Regions from separate parts of the Homo sapiens genome. Here region 2 is linked to region 1. Evidence: promoter capture Hi-C in 16 types of primary human blood cells and fetal thymus (Javierre and others, 2016). All regions are on one chromosome and are shown on one strand. Each heading gives the region's core, a stretch centred on a gene start or on the middle of the fragment in contact. The rest is flanking DNA. Distances are from core to core; before and after follow the strand shown. Region 1 holds the start of LEF1-AS1 (LEF1 antisense RNA 1). Region 2 has its middle 190 kb from the start of RPL34-DT.

Region 1 (4,386 bases), core at 85-2,584:
GGGCCGAGGAACCAGGACGCGCCCGGAGCCTCGCACGCGGCCAAGCTCGGGGCGTCCCCTCCCCTCGGCCGGGCGAACTCAAGGGGCGCAGCTCTTTGCTTTGACAGAGCTGGCCGGCGGAGGCGTGCAGAGCGGCGAGCCGGCGAGCCAGGCTGAGAAACTCGAGCCGGGAACAAAGAGGGGTCGGACTGAGTGTGTGTGTCGGCTCGAGCTCCGGGCAGAGGCATTTGGGCCCGAGGCCCCCGCTGTGACTCCCCGAGACTCCGCAGTGCCCTCCACTGCGGAGTCCCCGCGCTTGCCGGCAAAAACTTTATTCTTGGCAAACTTCTCTTTCTCTTCCCCTCCTCCTCGGCCCCCATCTTCTGCTCCTCCTCCTTCTCTAGCAGATTAAATGAGCCTCGAGAAGAAAAACCGAAGCGAAAGGGAAGAAAATAAGAAGATCTAAAACGGACATCTCCAGCGTGGGTGGCTCCTTTTTCTTTTTCTTTTTTTCCCACCCTTCAGGAAGTGGACGTTTCGTTATCTTCTGATCCTTGCACCTTCTTTTGGGGCAAACGGGGCCCTTCTGCCCAGATCCCCTCTCTTTTCTCGGAAAACAAACTACTAAGTCGGCATCCGGGGTAACTACAGTGGAGAGGGTTTCCGCGGAGACGCGCCGCCGGACCCTCCTCTGCACTTTGGGGAGGCGTGCTCCCTCCAGAACCGGCGTTCTCCGCGCGCAAATCCCGGCGACGCGGGGTCGCGGGGTGGCCGCCGGGGCAGCCTCGTCTAGCGCGCGCCGCGCAGACGCCCCCGGAGTCGCCAGCTACCGCAGCCCTCGCCGCCCAGTGCCCTTCGGCCTCGGGGGCGGGCGCCTGCGTCGGTCTCCGCGAAGCGGGAAAGCGCGGCGGCCGCCGGGATTCGGGCGCCGCGGCAGCTGCTCCGGCTGCCGGCCGGCGGCCCCGCGCTCGCCCGCCCCGCTTCCGCCCGCTGTCCTGCTGCACGAACCCTTCCAACTCTCCTTTCCTCCCCCACCCTTGAGTTACCCCTCTGTCTTTCCTGCTGTTGCGCGGGTGCTCCCACAGCGGAGCGGAGATTACAGAGCCGCCGGGATGCCCCAACTCTCCGGAGGAGGTGGCGGCGGCGGGGGGGACCCGGAACTCTGCGCCACGGACGAGATGATCCCCTTCAAGGACGAGGGCGATCCTCAGAAGGAAAAGATCTTCGCCGAGATCAGTCATCCCGAAGAGGAAGGCGATTTAGCTGACATCAAGTCTTCCTTGGTGAACGAGTCTGAAATCATCCCGGCCAGCAACGGACACGAGGTGAGCGGGCCGCTGCCCCAGTTCCGAGAGGCGTGGCGGGTCCCTGGGAAACTCAGAGAGGGAGGAAGGGAACGAAGGCGCCCGGCCGCCCGGCTGAGGGTCCCGAGTAGATCCCTCGTTTGTTTTGGGGTGTGTGCGTAGCTGGGCCCCCGGTCCGCAGTGTGTGTGTGTGTGTGTGTGTGTGTGTGTGTGTGTGTGTGTGTAGGATGGGAGGTAGAGGGGCAGGGTAACTTATTCCAAATGGATCAGTTTAGGGGGTTCGGTGGCTGAACGGTTGGTTCGCGGGCAGGAACCCACAATGTTTCGCCTTCGGTCTTTTTGTTGGGCTGAGGGGTGCCGTGCTTTAAAGCGAGTAGGGCTGAATAACGCTACTGATAAATTCTTCCGTGGGACGGAAAACAAAGTGCACACGCTATCTCTTGGTAGATGTCTCTGCAAAAGTGCGTTAAACCACCAAAGGCTTAGGTGGAGACGAGCAGAGCCACAGGCGGGAGGAAGGGGAGGCGGGCGTGGGCTGGGGCAGGCGGGGCCGTCCCTACCACCGGTGAGCCGGGCCGCGGGGAGCAGGCCGGCCGATGGGGCGCGCACCCGGGCTGCGGGGGCGGTGCGGGGTTCAGTCCCTGCGGCCCCAGCGCCTGGGCTAGCAGCTGGGAGCTGTGGGTGCGCCGAGCCGACCCACCGCAAGGGTACACCCTGGCTGTACCGCCCCCAACTCTAGTTTTCTCCAACCGCCATCACTTGGAAACAAACCCACAACTTTTATTTGGGGTTTGGGACCGGATCAGGCCTTAAATCTACGCAGAAGAAAGGCGGAGAAGCAGCGGAAGCCGGGCACTAGTCCTGCAGGGTGGAAGGCGCTTTATCGGGTCTTCTGGCCCGCTGCGGGCGATAGAGCTGGTAACCTGAGTAGAGTAAATAGAGACACGTGGGTGCTGGCTAGAGAAAGCGCGGAGCAGGGCCGCGCTGGAGGGCTGTTTGAAGCCTAGTCCAGAGCTGGTCTAGGGGGCGGATGGACCCTGATACCCGACACTCCACTGGTCACCCTTGTTCCACAACTGGGAAACCCTCTGGAGGAAATCCGGTAGAAAAGTCCTGACACCCGAATGATTTAACCAACGCCTTTTCCCTCCAAAGAAACTTGGAGGATATACCTTTTTTTCCTTAAATGGCATCTTTCTACCCCCAAAAAGAAAGTGTGTGGTTTTGAGGGCGGGGACATTTTGGGTTTTAAACAGCGCGTTTAAGAACACCTCAGATCTGCCTTCTCTATCCCAATGGCAGAGGTGAGTACGAATTTTGAAAGGCTGGGGGCCTGCGTTCAGAGAACAGAATGGTGTTCTTTACCCGTTGAATCCAGTTTGAGCGGGCTGGGGGCGGGGGTAGGGTGCACCTAACCCCGCGTAAAAGATTTGTGACTACTGTGTGCTGGGAAAAGGAGGTCAAAGGGAGGACACACGTCCAGAGAACCGAATAACATCCAAAACACAGGCTTTTTGCCAAACTCTCCTATTTGTAGAGCAGCCTCTCTTTCTACCCATTTTGCTAGTCCTGCCTTAGTCCATAAATAATTTTGCCACCCACTTCATATTCTCCACAATTTTCTGGTCCGGGTGAAGGACACTGCGTTCGAATCCGAGAGCACTCGGGTGTTAAGTGGGCATGAGGAGGCCTGAGGGTGAAGGAGTAATACCACTGATTTGCACGTGTTTGAGGCTGTCTGGGTGGATGGTGATTACCAAAACTGATATCAACTGGGCTACCTTTTAGATGTCTATAACCTGACTCTCTAATTTTCCTCCCTTTAACCACAGAATCGTTCTACTTTTGTAAGCCTGCACTCAGCCAGCCATAGTAGGTTATAAGCTCGAGTGGAGCTTCTGCTGTAACTGCGCTCAGGGCAGTTGCCTTAAGACCGCATCTGAGTGGTTGGCTTGTTTATGTTTAAATGCCATTTTCAGTTGCAAAATGATATTTCAGCCTTCTTTTAATCAGATCTGATTGAAGTGAACAGTGGTTGAAGAGGCTATCGAAACCATCAACCCCATTAACTCCTACTCCTGTAATATTAGGCATCCAAGGAGCCTTGATATGGTTTAATAAACAGCAGTCAGAACAGCATGTGGATCATTCCCAAATTTAACTATATTTTTATTGGTTTTGTTATTATTTATACGTTTTTGGTCCCGGGTGGATAATAATCACTCAAAAATACATGTTGACAAGAAAAGGATTATGCAGTACTAAACACTAGCGTATGTCTCTCAGAGTATAAAACAGAGTTGCCCCTAAACCTCTTCCTTTGAATTACCAGCGCACACACATTTGTACCATTATTGTCACAAACTCTAAGGTGATTTTCTTTCTTTTGGGTGTGGGGATTCATGATGTTAGGTGGCCAGACAAGCACAAACCTCTCAGGAGCCCTACCACGACAAGGCCAGAGAACACCCCGATGACGGTAAGACACCCATTCTACTTCTTCTGACTTTAGCAGATAAGGGGTGCAATTTGTATAAATAGGTGTGTTTTGTTACTTTTGAGTTCAAGAAACTGGGACTAGGTCAGACTATGCCCACTATTTTAATGGTAAAGAAAACGCAGGAAACTTATGGCTTACCTCTAATATATATTACATAATTTAAAAACTGTTTTTGAATGAGTTAGGGACCCTTGGATTTCAGGTGGGTTCCAGATTCTTTGGGAAGAGGGAATGTCTACAATGAGTTTTTCTCTTCCTCATCTTACCTTAAATCCTAATTAGCTTAGATCTTTAGTATTTTTAATATATTATTAAGAAGAACGACAGTATATATCGATTTATTTTCCAACCAGAATAGTTTTGAGTGGATTTTCACTTGCAAAATTGCTGTTTCTTGTTCCTTATTACAGTGAAAAGGCCGGCAGTAAATGAGCAGAGCAGAATCTAACTTGTAAAAATATAAAACTTATAATTAGGAATGTGCATATCAGAAATGATACCCTTTCTCCCTATTTCTGATTCTTGCTAAAAACTTTAAAATTACATACATATGTATTTAGACTTAAGGAGAATTCTTTGTGACTTTAAAAGAATCAAGTAACC
Region 2 (4,101 bases), core at 920-3,419, 260 kb before region 1:
TCTCCATACTAATGAAGATAACGTTGCATAATTATTGATTTATAAGTATCCATTATATGCTAGAGTCAGCATTAAACATGCACATGACACACTCATTTTATTTATTTATTTATTTTTGAGACAGGGTCTCACTCTGTCATCCAGGCTGGAGTGCAGTCGCATGATTCTAGCTCACTGTAGTCTTGACCTCCTAGGTTCAAGTGATCCTCCCACCTCAGCCTCCCGAGCAGGTAAGACTACAGGCACATGTCACCATGCCTGGCTAATTTTTTTTTTTATTTTTTTACAGAGATGGCGTCTTACTATGTTGCCCAAACTAGTCTCGAACTCCTGGCCTCAAGCAATTCCCTTGCCTTGGAATCCCATAACACTGGAATTATAGGCATGAGCCACCACACTCAGCCTGACATACTCATTTTTAAGCAAAGGACTTCTAAGTCATGGCTTGTTAATCTAACACCGACGATAACGTCCCAGGCAGAAGCCACAGCCCAGAAGACTTCCCAGCGTGGGAAGGCTTAGGAGACCAGCTGGCATCAGGCACATTCCACAGAAATACTGAGAAACTTGTGAAGAACAAACAGACCTGGCAGGAGCAAGAGGAAGATACCTGGCCTGAGTAGCACTAAATATGTCCCAATTAAACAGAACTACTATCCCAATTAAGCAACTGTCATGACCATTAATAAACACAAAAGGGTGTGTTGCACGATGGCCTGATTCAGTGCCGTTACTGATTTAGTGCACTGTAATGATTATTAATAATCCTCAGCTACTTCATGCTTCTCTGAGTGCTCTGGGAATTCACATTTGCCTGGATCCTTGAATGAAGATGATACTGGAAGTGAAACTCAAAGAGAATCATTTGGATGGCCGAAATAGGTCTGATGAAACTGCTGATACAGATGCCTGAGCATTTCATGGAATTCTGGGCCATTTCCTCTCCCTGGTCATCTCATGTCTTGTGATCTAACCAGCTCTTAGGGGTTCCTTGGTCAAGCACTCTGGCCCTGCTTCCTCCTTTCACTTGGCTGGCAAATCTCATATAGACTTCAATGGCGAAAAGCTGTCAACAGTTCATAAAAGGATCAAACACCTTAAGATGTTGTATACAAGTTCCAGTGATGTTTTCAAATATACTTCCTTTCCTAGTTCCTCACAGATAACCTTTTGGCATCCAGTGAAGTAACGTGGAGGGTAGATACCCAGTTCTGATTTGGGGAAATGTTTTCCACCCACTAGTTGTCATCATACATGGTTTGGTTCAACACATTTCATCAATGGAATCTTGTGATGTTCCTGTTAGCAACTTTTTTTTTTTCCTGGGGAATAGGGGTCAAGGAAAGGCCTTTCAAAGGAGGCCAACTGTAAAGAGCTGGGCTTACTTTCATGTCTGCCATCACAGCTCTTAACTATTGCTCCCCAAAGAGAAGCAAAAGAAAACACAGCTTTCCATGACACCTGTTCCTTTCATGCCAGCCTAGTTCCAAGGAAAAAGATTTTCCAAATCAAGTAGAGATTTCAGATGTTTTTTTTAAATTTCCAACTCTGAGTCTAAATATTGGTAAAGAGAATGCTTAAAGAGGACTTGAAAGATAAAAGCAAGGTGTTTTGCTAACATCATATCCATGGCTAGTGGGATTGTTTTGGGGTGTGTGTGCGTGCGTGTGTGTGCGCATGTGTGTGTGTTTTGATTTCTGGGACAGGAGGCAATGAATGGATAAACTAGCAAGGAAAAAGTGAGACTGGGCCATTAGCCCATTGGTAAGAAAATCACAATCTCTGGTAATCTATGAGAAATATTTCCTAAGGACCTTTTTTGAGACCTTGCAGCTTTTCTCAATTGGAGTTTCTCATGTGAACCACAAAACAGACAATGATTTAAGTGACTATTTTCTCAGTTCTCCCAAGATGGCACAGAGCTAGTACTATCCTGGAATATGCATAGAAGAGAAGGTAATTCGTTGTGTACAATGGATATCTTACAACAATTAGGGCTTAGTTCTATCCCTGAAATGGTTGAGGAAAACCATTAGAAAAACACCACACCCAAGGCCCATGCCTGGAGACAGACCAAATACAAATTGCCTTTCCAAGAAGCACAGATGACTAAAGTGGTTCAAAAATAAATGTATGTACATACTTGAAAGATAACTTTCATGTAGTCACAAAGTTTAGGGAAAATTCTTTCTGATAAATCTAAAAGTTCCAAAAGTCTTTTAAACCTTTCGATGACGGGGTTAAGAAAAAAATGATGTGCATTAAGGGCCGACTAAATGTTTCAGTTATAGCTGGGTGCAGTGGCTCTCACCTGTAATCCTAGCACTTTGGGAGGCTGATGGGGGAGAATCACCTGAGGCCAGGAGTTCAAGACCAGCCTGGCCAACATCACAAGACCCCATCTCTACAATTTTTTTTAAAATTAGCTGGGCAGGATTGTGCATGCCTGTAGTCTCAGCTACTCAGAAGGCAGAGGCAGAAGGATCACTTGAGCCCAGGAGTTCAAGGCTGCAGTGATCCATGATTGTGCCACTGCACTCCATCCAGAATGGCAGAGCAAGACCCTGTCTCCACACACACAAAAAAAAAATTAAAAAAAAAAAGGTTTTAGCTGTAAGTTAGACAATGTCTGTTGTCAAGGCTCTCATAATCATTGCAGGGAGGAGGACAAGCATACAAGATGGCCCTGGGAGCAAGAGACAGAGATAGATGAGAGAAAGATTAAGGAAATTAAGGAAATAGAATCTTTACGAGTTAGTAATCAACTCTATGTGTAGATTGAAGGAAGGAGCTAATTTGAGTGGTTGGTTTTTCCAGGCCTTAAATGGAAAATACATGAGGTAAAATTGATTTGTTGTGGTTGTCATTATTGTGGTTGCTATTGCCATGTGTGGTGGGAGAGATGGTGACAGCCAGCTTAGCGCTGGAAAAATTTGAGGTTCCATTAAGGCACTCAAATGAAAGTATACTGTAAATAGTTGGACACAGCTCTGAGTTTCAGGAGAGAGGTCTCACTGGAGATGCAGATCTGAGAATTATTAAAGATTGTGAAATATGTCCAGCTTACTCATGGAAGATGTGTTTACTGAGAAGAGGAAAGGTCTTTATTTTTGAAAACTTGAGAAAGAAAGCTGTATTTTCAGTTGCACATTCAAAAGATGATTTAAAAGCAGCCATCAGCAAAATCCATAGTATTAATCTGAGAAAACCTTTGCATGCTTGCTGCTTTAGGGACTAAATTCAACAGCTTTGACACTGTTTTCTTGGATGCAACTCCTTTTTCGCCTTTCAAATGCTATAATTCTCCAGTTTTCCCTAAGCACTTGACTTCCCTGAGAGAGACCCTAAAACCCTCTGTGCTTCAATATGTCCTCTTTGGAAATCCGTTTGATTATGCTGCCCATTGCAGGAGGAGATTAAATAGGAAGATTAGCTAATAGATTTTAATATAATTAGTATCCAAGTAGCCAAAATTTTGCCAGACTCTTGACAGCTTAAAATATCTACATCTGGCCGGGCATGGTGGCTCACGCCTGTAATCCCAGCACTTTGGGAGGCTGAGGCGGGTGGATCACGAGGTCAGGAGATTGAGACCATCCTGGCTAACATGGTGAAACCCCGTCTCTACTAAAAATACAAAAAATTAGCCGGGTGTGGTGGCAGGCGCCTGTAGTCCCAGCTACTTGGGAGGCTGAGGCAGGAGAATTGCTTGAACCCGGGATTTGGAGGTTGCAGTAAGCTGAGATTGTGCCACTGCACTCCAGCCTGGGCGACAGAGCGAGACACCTTCTCAAAAAGAAAAAAAATCTACATCTACTCTTGTGACAAAACAGACAACTAGGATAATATGAAATTTTAAACACTGACTTCTGTCTATAAACCATTACACAAAAACGTTCTCATGACAAATATTGAAACATTGTGTATGCATGACAAATACTGAAACATTGTCTACATTGCAAAATACTAAGAAAATAATGTAATTTGAAAAGTAAAATTTGGCATACCGTAAAAATGAGAGATTACATATAGTTACTTTCACCTAGGTAAGTGAATAAAGATATCAAACATTAGTGATAATATTCAAAATTATATGTAGTA

What was found. Contacts are between HindIII fragments. The CHiCAGO score rates a contact against its expected background, and 5 or more counts as called.
Region 2: a contact is called between a fragment that was not itself captured here and the fragment with the promoter of LEF1-AS1 in region 1, in 6 of 17 cell types (activated CD4 T cells, naive CD4 T cells, non-activated CD4 T cells and 3 more). The highest score is 13.9, in activated CD4 T cells.

Annotation. Positions count from the first base shown.
Region 1 is chr4:108,164,473-108,168,858 of GRCh38, reverse strand. LEF1-AS1 (LEF1 antisense RNA 1) reads right to left here and starts at 1,334. Exons shown (of 3, transcript NR_029374.1): 1 at 1,026-1,334. LEF1 (lymphoid enhancer binding factor 1) reads left to right here. Exons shown (of 12, transcript NM_016269.5): 1 at 1-1,304; 2 at 3,696-3,762. The coding sequence starts at 1,092. It overlaps LOC124900752, which reads right to left and starts at 920. Exons shown (of 2, transcript XM_047416528.1): 1 at 1-920. The coding sequence starts at 359. RefSeq lists enhancers at 238-327, 1,355-1,856 and a silencer at 1,734-1,973. The HindIII fragment of the contact is 8,163 bases long and covers 1-4,386 here.
Region 2 is chr4:108,427,083-108,431,183 of GRCh38, reverse strand. No RefSeq gene overlaps it. Among named protein-coding and RNA genes, the nearest start is that of RPL34-DT, 190 kb to the left of the region's middle. The HindIII fragment of the contact is 5,329 bases long and covers 1-4,101 here.